Regions from separate parts of the Homo sapiens genome. Here regions 2 and 3 are each linked to region 1. The links are contacts of gene promoters, found by promoter capture Hi-C in blood cells and fetal thymus (Javierre and others, 2016). All regions are on one chromosome and are shown on one strand. Each heading gives the region's core, a stretch centred on a gene start or on the middle of the fragment in contact. The rest is flanking DNA. Distances are from core to core; before and after follow the strand shown.

What was found. The method cuts DNA at HindIII sites, captures the fragments that hold promoters and counts their contacts. A CHiCAGO score of 5 or more calls a contact.
Region 2: a contact is called between the fragment with the promoter of GALNT4 here and the fragment with the promoter of TMPO in region 1, in 1 of 17 cell types (naive CD8 T cells). The highest score is 5.3, in naive CD8 T cells.
Region 3: the fragment with the promoter of WASHC4 here is called in contact with the fragment with the promoter of TMPO in region 1 in 1 of 17 cell types (neutrophils); the score reaches 5.4 in neutrophils.

What each region holds. Positions count from the first base shown.
Region 1 is chr12:98,513,375-98,517,334 of GRCh38, reverse strand. TMPO (thymopoietin) reads right to left here and starts at 1,745. Exons shown (of 9, transcript NM_001032283.3): 1 at 1,189-1,745. The coding sequence starts at 1,467. TMPO-AS1 (TMPO antisense RNA 1) reads left to right here and starts at 1,109. Exons shown (of 2, transcript NR_027157.1): 1 at 1,109-1,344; 2 at 1,438-3,960. RefSeq lists a silencer at 986-1,255 and enhancers at 1,596-1,785, 2,046-2,125. The HindIII fragment of the contact is 4,246 bases long and covers 1-3,823 here.
Region 2 is chr12:89,523,546-89,527,505 of GRCh38, reverse strand. GALNT4 (polypeptide N-acetylgalactosaminyltransferase 4) reads left to right here and starts at 2,710. Exons shown (of 1, transcript NM_003774.5): 1 at 2,710-3,960. The coding sequence starts at 2,957. POC1B-DUSP6 (POC1B-DUSP6 readthrough) reads left to right here and starts at 1,459. Exons shown (of 11, transcript NR_189589.1): 1 at 1,459-1,625; 2 at 2,302-2,386. POC1B (POC1 centriolar protein B) reads left to right here and starts at 1,459. Exons shown (of 12, transcript NM_172240.3): 1 at 1,459-1,625; 2 at 2,302-2,386. The coding sequence starts at 1,611. POC1B-GALNT4 (POC1B-GALNT4 readthrough) reads left to right here and starts at 1,244. Exons shown (of 3, transcript NM_001199782.1): 1 at 1,244-1,625; 2 at 2,302-2,386; 3 at 3,833-3,960. The coding sequence starts at 1,351. It also overlaps POC1B-AS1. RefSeq lists silencers at 1,504-1,763, 2,314-2,693 and an enhancer at 2,784-2,993. The HindIII fragment of the contact is 3,011 bases long and covers 1,161-3,960 here.
Region 3 is chr12:105,106,232-105,110,191 of GRCh38, reverse strand. It overlaps WASHC4 (WASH complex subunit 4), which reads right to left and starts at 2,461. Exons shown (of 33, transcript NM_015275.3): 1 at 2,331-2,461. The coding sequence starts at 2,391. LOC414300 (a long non-coding RNA gene) reads left to right here and starts at 2,550. Exons shown (of 2, transcript NR_121211.1): 1 at 2,550-3,404. RefSeq lists enhancers at 195-354, 2,193-2,352 and silencers at 1,913-2,162, 2,373-2,652. The HindIII fragment of the contact is 7,983 bases long and covers 1-3,960 here.

The sequences.
Region 1 (3,960 bases), core at 496-2,995:
AATCCACAGGTAAAAAAGCAAACTATTCTGAAACAAAACATGCTTTGCTGGAGCCGATTTGAGATTTAACCAGGATCAGACATTCCAAATTGCAATACTGATGCACCAGAATGTCATGAAATAAATTTTTCCTGAATCCTAAGTCTTTCGTTTCCTCAAGCAAAATTTACCAATATGTGGGGAAAACGCAATCCAAACTGCAATTTTCAAATATTTGTTTGCAGGGCCGGGCCCGGTGGCTCACGCCTGTTATCCCAGCACTTTGTGAGGCCGAGGCGGGAGGACCACCTGAGGTCAGGAGTTCGAGACCAGCCTGACCAACTTGGAGAAACCCCGTCTCTACTAAAAAATACACAAATCAGCCGGGCGTGGCGGCGCATGCCTGTAATCCCAGCTACTCGGGAGGCTGAGGCAGGAGAATCGCTTGAACCCGGGAGGTGGAGGTTGCGGTGAGCCGAGATCTCGCCATTGCACTCCAGCCTGGGCAACAAGTGCGACACTCCATCTAAAAAAATAAATAAATAAAAACTAAAAAATTATAATAGGCGCCTAAAAATATAGTTTAAAATGCTCCTTTTAATTCGGCATGAACCTGTTCCGCCAAAAGATGGCCTGTTGCTGGGAAAAATTAAAACAAACTAGAAAACATAAACGGTTCAAAAAGCCCTCCACACGCAAAAGTATAAAAAGGCGGGAATTTCCTCATTTCAAATTTTGGTTAGAAATTAGAGTGTCATCAGTTGCCCTCCAGGGAGCGCTCTGAGACTCTGCTGCGAGTCATTTCAGTTAATAAAGCGGGAAAACGCTCGAACTTAACCTATAGCATTTTGGGGCCACCCCTCCAGAGCTTTCGAAAGGGCACGGAAGTCCCCGTCTAAACGCCCGCTGCAGGCGGCTGGTGGTCCAGGGAAGCGGCGTCGACTGCGTGCAAAACAACCGCCGCCAACGCAACTCCACACCTCCCAGACCCACACGTCAAAGAACGCGAACCCCGCGGCCCCAACTTCTGGCCTCTCCGCTCCGGCGCCTGCAGCCCCGCGGGGAAGGGGCGACGCGAGGGGGCGCAGGGACAGCCCCGCACCTGGGAGGCCCGAGGGGGCGCCCGGGAGGGAGGGGCTGCAAACGGCGGCGAGCGCGCGCGGCAACCGCCAAACGCCCGCCTTTGTAGCCCCGGCCCCGCGTCCTTACCCTGCCGACGGCTGCTCGGCTCCGGCCCGCGGCGGCGGCCCCAGAGCCGAGGACCGGGGTGGGCTCGCGCTCTTCGTCACTGGAGAAGTCCGGGGGCCCCTTGCTGTTGGTGCCGGCGGGGAGCGGCGGCCGGTTGCGAGCCGTGAGGTGCTGCAGGTAGAGCTGGACGTACACGTCTTTGCGCTGCTCCCCGGCCGGCAGCGTCACATTGTTGGCGACCAACTCACTCTTCAACTTGTCTTTTGTCAGGACCGAGGGGTCTTCCAGGAACTCCGGCATCTCGGGGATCTGCGAAGCCCCCTCCCCACAGCCTTTGCCGCCGCCGCTCACGCCGGCGCGCTTGCTCCTGGCCGGGGACCGCGCTGCCGCCTCCGAGCCTCACGGCTCCTGCCCGGGAAGAGCGCTGCGGAGCGGAACAAAAACTCGCGGACACAAAGCCAAGCCAGACCCGGACACAAAAGACCCCAGAGCCGAACTACGAACCAACTGCGGCCAAGCTGGAAGCTCGCACCAACCCCAGCCCACACACTACAGGCAGGAGGCGAGCAGCCTGCTTCGCCCACGCCCCAAGAACGCGCGCCGCCATTGGCGGGCGACGGGAGGAAGCGCGGCGGTGATTGGCGAGACGGCTCGCGCGGGTTCCATTAGCCGCCGCGCTGAGCGAGAGGAGGTAGAAACGCAGTTTAAAAGGCGCTGGGGCGGGAGCCGAGGCTCCCGGCCCGCTTCTGTTTTCGTTTTCTCCACCCTTCCCCTTAGACGCCGATAAGGGACAGGTCGTACTGCTTTTGTGCGCCGTTTCCTCTCCCTCCCCCAGCTTGAGAAGCAGCTTTCGTCTCTGGGGTCGATCGCCTACGAACGCGCCGAATTCCACGCCAGTGTGAGGACCCTTGGCTGGGCCTTTCTTCCTCCCGGGACACTGAAGCTCCAAGAGTAGCCGCAGCCTTGCCTTCCCCAAACGCTAGCCCTGAAGGGGAAGAAAAGAAGCGAGGCTTGTCTGCAGGCACTCATATTCCTTGATTTGATTTACTTTGGGAGGGGGAGGGCGGGGAGTTACCCCTCTCCTCGCGAACGCTTCTTTTGTTCCAGAAACCCAGGGGAAGCCAGACCTCTACAATCGGGCACTTAAATTACCCTTGAATTTGTGACAAAAGTGTACTATACCATTCACTTCTTAGTGTCATAGTTGGGGCATGTCTAAATTGTTTAATTTGAACAGTGCGTTCAGACGCAAGACAAATTCGCGCTTGCATTTTTGTTGAAACCGTCTCTGGCTTTGGATCCCACCACCCGCAAGAATCCTAAACCTAACGTTTGATAACAAAACGAAGGAGAACCCTTGGGAACCCCCTCAATGGTCAATTTAAAATAACAGATGGTGCATAATCCTAAAGGAAGACTAGTGACCTATAATTAGGCCTAGAACCCTAATCAAACCCGTATTACCGATCCAAATTAAAACCTGGTAGAATCTAATACATTGACTGCAATTAAAATGTTTGCCTGGAAATTAGTATCACTGATGACAAATATTTGTATTTCTGATGAATATGTATGTTTAAAGATGCTTTCTTTCTAGAAAGGAAAGGAGACCTTGGATGTAGGGTGTGTTAATCATTTCCCCAGAATCTGAGCTCCAAACTATGTTTTAGAAACTGGTTAAATTTTTTTTAAATGTTTGCCTGCTTTCTACATTGCTAGGTTAGAATACATTTAAAACAAACGCCTTCACTAAAAATGTTTCCTATGATTTAAGCGACTTACTTTTATTCAAATTGCGATATTATTTCTTTTAGTGATAATTATTTTCCTAGAGGTAACTAATTCCTTTATAAAAATCTCAGTATTCACATACATTTAAGCAATGGTATTAAGCTCAATAATGCAAATTAAAAATCAGGTTTTAATTAGCAAGTTGTTAGGTAGGTTTTTATGATCCCTTGTAAAAGTTGCTTGGTTTTTTGTCCTCACAGCTTCCCTGGACACATAGGCAAATGTTTTTATCTTCAGAAGGGGAACTGAGCTGAGAGGCAAAGGACCATGACTTTGCAATGACTGGTAACCCAGTACGTATAATGCAAGAACTGCATTCTAGATACGCCTGAAATTAATGTTTCCTGGGCAAAAACATTTTCATTATCTTTTTTTTAATCCCTGGACATTAGCTACAGGTGGTTACTTGCAGATTTACTGCTGTAGAGCTCCAAAATTGAGATTACACTTTTCAGATTCTGCGTACCCTAAGGCTAAGAGGTTGGGCTATTGAGTTTGGGTGGTCTCTTTGGTCCTGATTGCTACTTCCAAACCATTTCTGCTCTTTTCTGCTTCAAAAATATTTGAAGTTCATATCTTCTGGCTAAATCACTTTCTACTCTCCTTCCTGCCATCATCCACGAGCCTCCTGGTCACTTTCCAGAAATTATAGAGCTGCTTGCCGTAGGTTTTCCTCACCATCCCTCTTGTCTACATTCTATCTGAATTCAGCATGCTTGTAGGTGACCCATGCAACACCAACACTTGGCCTCTTAGACCTCTGACCTCTTCATCTCCAACAATTTGTTCCTCTCTTGCGTCTTAACCACTTCGGTATCAGTCAGATTCTGAACCTTGTCATCAGTTGAAATCTCAGTTTCAAGCTTCCCAATTGTCAATCACTAGCCTTTTTTTCCCAGCTAATTTATGGTACTCTCACTTACCTAATTAAGACCTCCACGCTATTAACCCCAACACTTAAAAAAACTCAACTCTTCTGCTTCTGCCATCATGTAATAATTT
Region 2 (3,960 bases), core at 1,461-3,960, 9.0 Mb after region 1:
GTATCCAGCATTAGTTTTAAACATGGCAGGCTTTTAAAATAAATCAAGCCTAAACTGGTAATATGTAGCAAAACTAAGAGTCCTGCAACAGTTTGCTGACAAGTTGCTGATATCAACACTCTTAACATATCATCTCCTAGACTAATGCAGTGTTTCTCAACATAGACAGCTGAGACTCCCATAGTAATCATCTATGGAGCTTGTTACATCAGAAGGGCCCTGGATCCCACCTTGTATATGTTGATTCAGCATCTCTGGAAATGGAGCCCCCAAATCAACATTACAAATGCTAAAGCATGAGACTCACCAACCCTAGATTGCTGAGTTCTTGAAGGTAGGGGAAATATCTTAGTCATCATTGTGTCCCTCAAGGCCAAACATACAACAGATATTTAACAAGTGTATACTTAAATTAACTAATACTGTAATCTAAAGCCTACCTGTTTAGTTGTTAAGTACCATATTCAATAAAATTAAACTCAATCACTAGACAACTAGGGAATCTGTAATTAAGGTGTGTAGCATACCTTTCATTTGCATAAAACACATGTCTTACCAGCTGTGTTCTATCATGCCCTTTGATGTTGCTAAGGATCTTTACACTATATGTAATTTTCAGCTCAGAACATCACGCTTTGAGGCAGGGTTAAAAAAAAAAAAAGGATATGGACTTGGAATTAGAAGAACTGTCTCTGTGTGACCTCTAAGACCAATATCTAGGAATCAAGTTTATAACTTGGAAACATTGAAAACATTTTGTAATTCTACCAACTTCATTGTTTGGCTGAAGCACAAATGATACTATGTGTAACAAAGCCTGCTGTAGAAACGTGGTCTCACAAAAAACAAACAAAAAAAACCATGTTTCCAAGTCTTCCTAAAGACTTTAAGTATCCAGCTGTGTAAGTTTAGTGCTCTAAGGTATACGCAAATAAGCAGATGAGAATGGAAACATATCGCAGAAAATTATTAAGTGCATGCACAACATTTATTCATTCATTCACTCATTCATTCATCACGCACATCCAGCAACTATATCAATATCCTGCAGGGCACTGTGTGGAAAACAGTGGTTAAATAAATTCAAATCTGCCCTCAGGGGATTTAGTTCCTTTTAGTATATTAATAACTAGCAAGCTGCCCCTCTTCATGTCAAAGCTTTACGTCAACAAAATAAGCGGTAGGGGATCACCTTAAACGTCACGGGTGCTGTCTCTTTAAAACGTAATAGAACTCTGATCGCATCGATCACAGGCTCACAACGCCCTTCCATTCATCGCTCTTATTCCAGTCCTGGTTACTACCCCACTTCCTGACATCAAACCAGGGAGAACGCGAGTGTTAGTTAACATGGCTTGGTGTGTGGCCACAGCTGACCCGGCGCATACCTCCCGTCCTCTCTTTACAGGGCTGGCGGTGTCTCGGGGCTCGGCTGGCCATGCCTGGAGCGCGGGGTTTGACTGGGCCGCCGTTGTTGTAGTGACCGGGAGGCGCTGCCGCTCTGGGCAGACGGTTCCGGGAGCCGCACGGTCCCCTCTCCTTCCCCATCCTCTCCCCTCCCCTCTCCGGGTTCCCCCACCCACAGGAGCCTTGGGCCGACCACTCCCCCGATGGCCTCAGCCACGGTAAGGACGGGTTGGAGGTGGGGGGGGTCCCTCCCTGGAGCCTGTCCCGCGGGCTGCGGGGCCAGGTCCGGGCCGAAGCCGCACCTGGAGGGAGATGGAGGCAGGTGTCCGTAGCCGGGTCCTGAGCCCCTCGTCCCGGGGCGTCCGTATCTCACTCTCTGCCATCGGGGCGGACGGAGTGCGGAACCCAGACCCGGCTCCCGGACGCTCTTCCCCGAGTTCCGGAGCTCCGGACTGAGCTGGGCGGCCCCACGGCCCCCAGAATTCTCGGAGGGTTTCCGTGGAGCGCCTGCGTCAGAATCACCTAGGAAGTATTAAAAAAAAAAAAAGTACCAAAGCCGAGGCGCATCCTCGCACCTGCCTGCCTTGGGCCAGCGGGCGGGGCCCGGGAACGTGCATTTCAAAGGGGCCGCGGTTCCTGCGATGCGCTGGACTCTGGGAAGCGCGAACAGAGCGTTTTGCGGGCTCTGCGGGGAGAGCTGGCGCCGGCGTCTCCCTGTAGCAGGACTGGGCGCCGCGCCCGTGGGTGGGCTGCTGCCCGGCCCCGCCGCCCAGCCAAGCCGCCGCCTGGGTGGCCATTCCCAAGCCGGACTCCGGGGAAGTGGCAGCGTGGATCCCAGCCGCCAGAATTCGAGGTCTGCGGCGGCTTTCAAAACTTGACAACTTTCCTTTCCAGGAGGACCCCGTTCTGGAGCGTTATTTCAAAGGCCACAAAGCTGCGATCACCTCCTTGGACCTCAGCCCCAACGGCAAGCAACTTGGTAAGTCTTATTCTTGTTTTGCTTTTGTAATGAGACTAAACTCCATGGGCCGGAAACCTTTCCTCCTGTCCGGGCAGGGTCCCTAGGAGAACGGCTAAGGGCCTGTATGAGGGTTGAGAGCACCCGGAGACGAGGGCCCAGCGCGGCGGGGCGCAGCTAGGGCCCCCTCTGCCATCCCGGCCCCCAGCCCCCGGCCCGGCCAAGAGCCTCCTATCCAGCGGTCTGGGCCTGGCGGACGACTTTCGCAAACTAACCACCAGGAGGAGTGAGTGGGAAGGGGAGGGGTTTCTCCTCGGCCCGGGGAGGGTGGGGTGTTGGCTGGAGAGTTTGTGAAAAGTTGTGAGCCGAGCAGGAGGAAGTAGGGAGAGAGGAGTTGGGCTGTGCCGGAGGCCGAGGACCGAGAGGGCTCAGGTGACCCCTGGAAAGCCTGGGTGGCTGGAAAGGAGCCTAGCGCCTGCATGAAAGGAAGAACCTGCTGGGAAGTACCTGAGCTCGAGCTGTGGGTTCCGCCGCCCTTCCCCTGCGTGGTGGCTTGGTGGCCGCGTCTGCGCCTCAGCCCTGAGAATCCGGATGGCGGTGAGGTGGACTTGGGCAGGCAAGAGCTGCCTGCTGCTGGCGTTTTTAACAGTGGCCTATATCTTCGTGGAGCTCTTGGTCTCTACTTTTCATGCCTCCGCAGGAGCCGGCCGTGCCAGGGAGCTGGGGTCAAGAAGGCTCTCAGACCTCCAGAAAAATACGGAGGATTTGTCTCGACCGCTTTATAAGAAGCCCCCTGCAGATTCCCGTGCACTTGGGGAGTGGGGGAAAGCCAGCAAACTCCAGCTCAACGAGGATGAACTGAAGCAGCAAGAAGAACTCATTGAGAGATACGCCATCAATATTTACCTCAGTGACAGGATTTCCCTGCATCGACACATAGAGGATAAAAGAATGTATGAGTGTAAGTCCCAGAAGTTCAACTATAGGACACTTCCTACCACCTCTGTTATCATTGCTTTCTATAACGAAGCCTGGTCGACTTTGCTCCGTACCATTCACAGTGTTTTAGAAACTTCTCCTGCAGTTCTTTTGAAAGAGATCATCTTGGTGGATGACTTGAGTGACAGAGTTTATTTGAAGACACAACTTGAAACTTACATCAGCAATCTTGATAGAGTACGCTTGATTAGGACCAATAAGCGAGAGGGGCTGGTTAGGGCCCGTCTGATTGGGGCCACTTTCGCCACTGGGGACGTCCTCACTTTCCTGGATTGTCACTGTGAGTGTAATTCCGGTTGGCTGGAACCGCTTTTGGAAAGGATTGGGAGAGATGAAACAGCAGTTGTGTGTCCTGTTATAGACACAATTGATTGGAATACTTTTGAATTCTATATGCAGATAGGGGAGCCCATGATTGGTGGGTTTGACTGGCGTTTAACATTTCAGTGGCATTCTGTCCCCAAACAGGAAAGGGACAGGCGGATATCAAGAATTGACCCCATCAGATCACCTACCATGGCTGGAGGACTGTTTGCTGTCAGCAAGAAATATTTTCAGTACCTTGGAACGTATGACACAGGAATGGAAGTGTGGGG
Region 3 (3,960 bases), core at 1,212-3,711, 6.6 Mb before region 1:
TTCTTCAACCACATAAAGTTTTAAATCCGGTGAATCCATTTAGTTCATTAAGGTTTCTGTCTTATTATAGCATTAATCTAGGCAATTTTGGAAAACAATTAGTCTAGATATGATTCACAGACCAAAAATTAATGAACGCCAAGCACAGGGAGGTGTTCTCTTCCCTACAGCTTACATATAAGACTGCCCAGATTCTCAGAACCCCAAATAGTTGTCTTATTCTCAACTACACAGGAAATGACCAGTCAAAGCTGCATTTGACCAGCAAATGACTTCTTAAAGACAATGCTAGGCCGGGCATGGTGGCTCACCCCAACACTTTAGGAGGCCAAGGCCGGTGGGTCGCTTGAGACCAGGAGTTCAACATGGCAAAACCTTGTCTCTATCCCAATTTAAAAAGAAAAAATCAGCCAGCTACTAAGGAGGCTGAGGTAGGAAGATCACCTGAGCTCAGCTGGTCGAGGCTGCAGTGAGCCGTGGCGATGCCACGGCACTGGGCGACAGAGTGAGACCTTGTCTCGAAAAAAAAAAAAAAAAAAAAAGACAATGCTAGAGAAACACCACGCCAATAAATCACTCCTTTAGTATGTTCAGGGATTCACAAACAGGAAACAGAAAACCTAAAATAACATTAAAAGTTCCTTGCTGACAATAAACGGTTGTAAAATTGGTGAAAGTTAAAATAACAAAAGTTGAGATAAGAACTACATGGTAATTTTTTAAGAGTAAAAATTCCAAAAACCTACTTAACATGCTCATCTTTGTCAACAGACTGCACTCCTTGTTTTATCTTTTTATCCCTAATATCTAGCACAGCCACTGGTTGTAGAAAATATCTGTTGAGTGAATCAGACCATTCTACTCCAGGCTGAACCATTTTCAAACTCAATTAACATAACTCTATTCCAATTTTTTTTGAAGATACCAGTTCGTCATCTTTGTCCATAAAACATATATGACAAGGTACAGTTCACTTTATAACAATACAGAATCCCCTCCACAAAAAAAAATTAAAAGATTTTGTCATTATCTCCAAGGTTAATTTTTATGCTGCATAAGAGCTAATACCTTATTATCACCCAGGCTAGAGTGCAATGGCGCGATCTCGGCTCACTGCAACCTCCGCCTGCCGGGTTCAAGCGATTCTCCTGCCTCAGCCTCCCAAGTAGCTGGAATTACAGGCGCTCGCCACCAAGCCCAGCTATTTATTTTTTAGTAGAGACGGGGTTTCACCATGTTAGCCAGGCTGGTCTTGAACTCCTGACCTCAGGAATGTTTTGTGAAAAACTGCAACCCATCCTGGATGTAGCTCACTCTTCTCTGAGAGACTTGTAAAACCTAATTCATCTAACATTGTAGGCATTAGTCTCTCTTCGTAAATCAAGCAAAATTCATCCGGAATTTTTAAAAGCAACGTTCCACCTTTTGGGAAAACTATGAGGGAAAAAAAAAATCACAAACAGCATGCTCCAATCTCTCTTAGATCACTTACACAGATTACTATGACCAAAGATAAGAAGCAGATTGCCAACTTGTATTTATTTCAAGTAGAGTTTCACTACAATTAATTTGGCCTCAATATTTTACTGAAAGAAACACAATTTGTTTATTTCGGGATAGACTTCTAAGTTAAAATCAGACAATTCGATCTTGTGAAGCAAAATTTGAAGATTTGCTGTAATTTTTGAAGCCTTTATAACTGCGATGGAAACTGCAGAACATCACTGAAAAATATCACTTAGCATAAATAAAAGGCCTGGAAAATGATAAAATGACATTCACGTGTTTATTTTCGCAGGGTGAAAAGTTCTTTTTTCGCTCCCTTCTACGGTTATAGCAACGCGATGGGAAAGACACCCAAACTTGCAAAAGTTGATTTGGGAGGAAAAGAAGAAAAACAGGAAACCGAAACAGGAACCCAGACATCAGCGTCCTCCAGAGCTGAACGCTCAGAATCTGGCGAAATCCCCAAGAGGCCAGAGACAGAAGCAGCCTGGGATCCCGGGGCCGCTGGGCCTCCCGGGCGCGCCCCGCCCAAGCCCCGGGGCAGCTGAAGGGGGACGCCGCTCCCCGCGGGGCACCGCAGGCTCCCCAGGAGAGTCTCCGCCTCACACGCCGAGCCCTGAACGGGCAGCCTGACCCGCCGTGGCTGGGACCCCAACCCCGAAAGTAACGCTGGAGAGCGCGTCCCTCGCACACCCCAAGGGCTCTGAAGTGTCCCGCACCAGACGGCTGCGCAGCCGTCCCTCTCGCAGGAGCGCTGCCCAGCCCAGAACAGCGGCGGGCCGAAGGAGCGTCCACCCGCAGCCCTCGCCCTGCAGCTCCCTTACTCTGCGAGCCGTCGTCAACGCGGTCAAACTCCCAGTCCGGGGACAGAGTCTCCACCGCCATCACCCCGGCGCCTCCCACAGACACAGCCCCAACCAGCCCGTGCGGCGACGACGGCCTCACCCCAGCTACTGTCACAGCACGTGACTTCCGGCCCCGGCCCCGCCTCCGCTCGCGAGGGCCGGCCGGGCTCGTTGCCCCTGCGACCGCGGGGGCCCCTGGGAAAGCGAGTCCTCCGCCGTGGCCGAAGGCGGCCGCCATGGCGCCGGCAGTGCCAGCGGGCGTCTTGCGACCCGGCTCGGGCTTCGCCACCATTCACTGTGCTTCTCAAGCCACTTCGGCACTCTAATTTCGCCCTGCTCTCTCTAGACGATTTTTAATACCTGGGAAAGTTACTCCCCAGTCTAACCTAAAAAGGTAGAATTGATGGGGTGGGGAATTAACAGGAAGGCATGATCCTCGAGGATAACGCTGACCAGGCGCTTCTTCCAACAAGCCTGTTTCCCTCTCTGTCGCCACCGTAGGAGTTCCTACAGCTCTCCCGCACATTCTGTACGGATTGTTTTTTAGTCAAGACGTTCTGTGCGAGAGGAGAAGTTACTTTATGAACACCCTAACAGGGGATCTTACGACCTCTTCCCCGCTCTCCACTCAGTCCTTTTAAAAACGCGAGGCAGGATGAAGAACGCTATTGAAGTACATTCTAAAATGATCCCACCTGCAATTTGGATTTTTGGAGAATCGGGATCGGTGTAAAATTCTACATGCATACACGTATTTGCACAAGAATATTTATAGCAACGTGGTTTTTAATAGGAAACTATCTAAATGTTCATTACAAGTGAATTACATAAAGCTCAATACATCCATACTACGAATCACTGAAGAGCTGCTAAAATAGATGAAATATATTTATAATGGCATGAACAACCGACACAAGACAGTTGCAGAGTAATGTGTATTTGTGATTACATTTATGTTTTTAAGTTATACAAACGCGTATGTGCCTACGTGTATGTAAATTCATAGGAAGACAAATCAGAGGACGGTGGTTACCTGGGGAAAAGCATGTGTTGGTGAGTAACAGGATTTTCAAGTTTTGATGTGTCTACTTATGTGTTTTGAATCCTTAACAATGAGAATTTATTAGGGTTTTACTCTTGTAATCTTAAAAAGTACCGAAAAGAACTAATCAATGTAGGCAAAAGGTCTATTGAAGAGCATTCTTCTGAGGTCATTGGATCTGCCCTGAGTTAAATGTTTATTGAGTGCCCACTGGGTACCAGGCACCAGGCTAGATGCAGAAACTATAAAACATGTAAGAAAATTGCTTTCTGACCCTATGGCAGACTTAGTGGGCATTTCAGAAAGAAAAAAAAAATCTTGAAAAGAACAGGCATCCTTAGGGTCTAATGGCTGACAAACTTTTTTCCTGTACTTTCTGTGTGACCATGAGTTTGACTTTCCTGGATTCTTAACATTTGCATTAAATCACTGTAATTAATCTCCCAGCAGCTCATTGTGATAAATTGAACTTACAAGTCAGAAAAATTTGAGTCTATAAATACACTAATCTATTAAAGTTAATAGATTAGTAGCAAGAGGCAGTGTCATGTAATAATTGAAAGCACA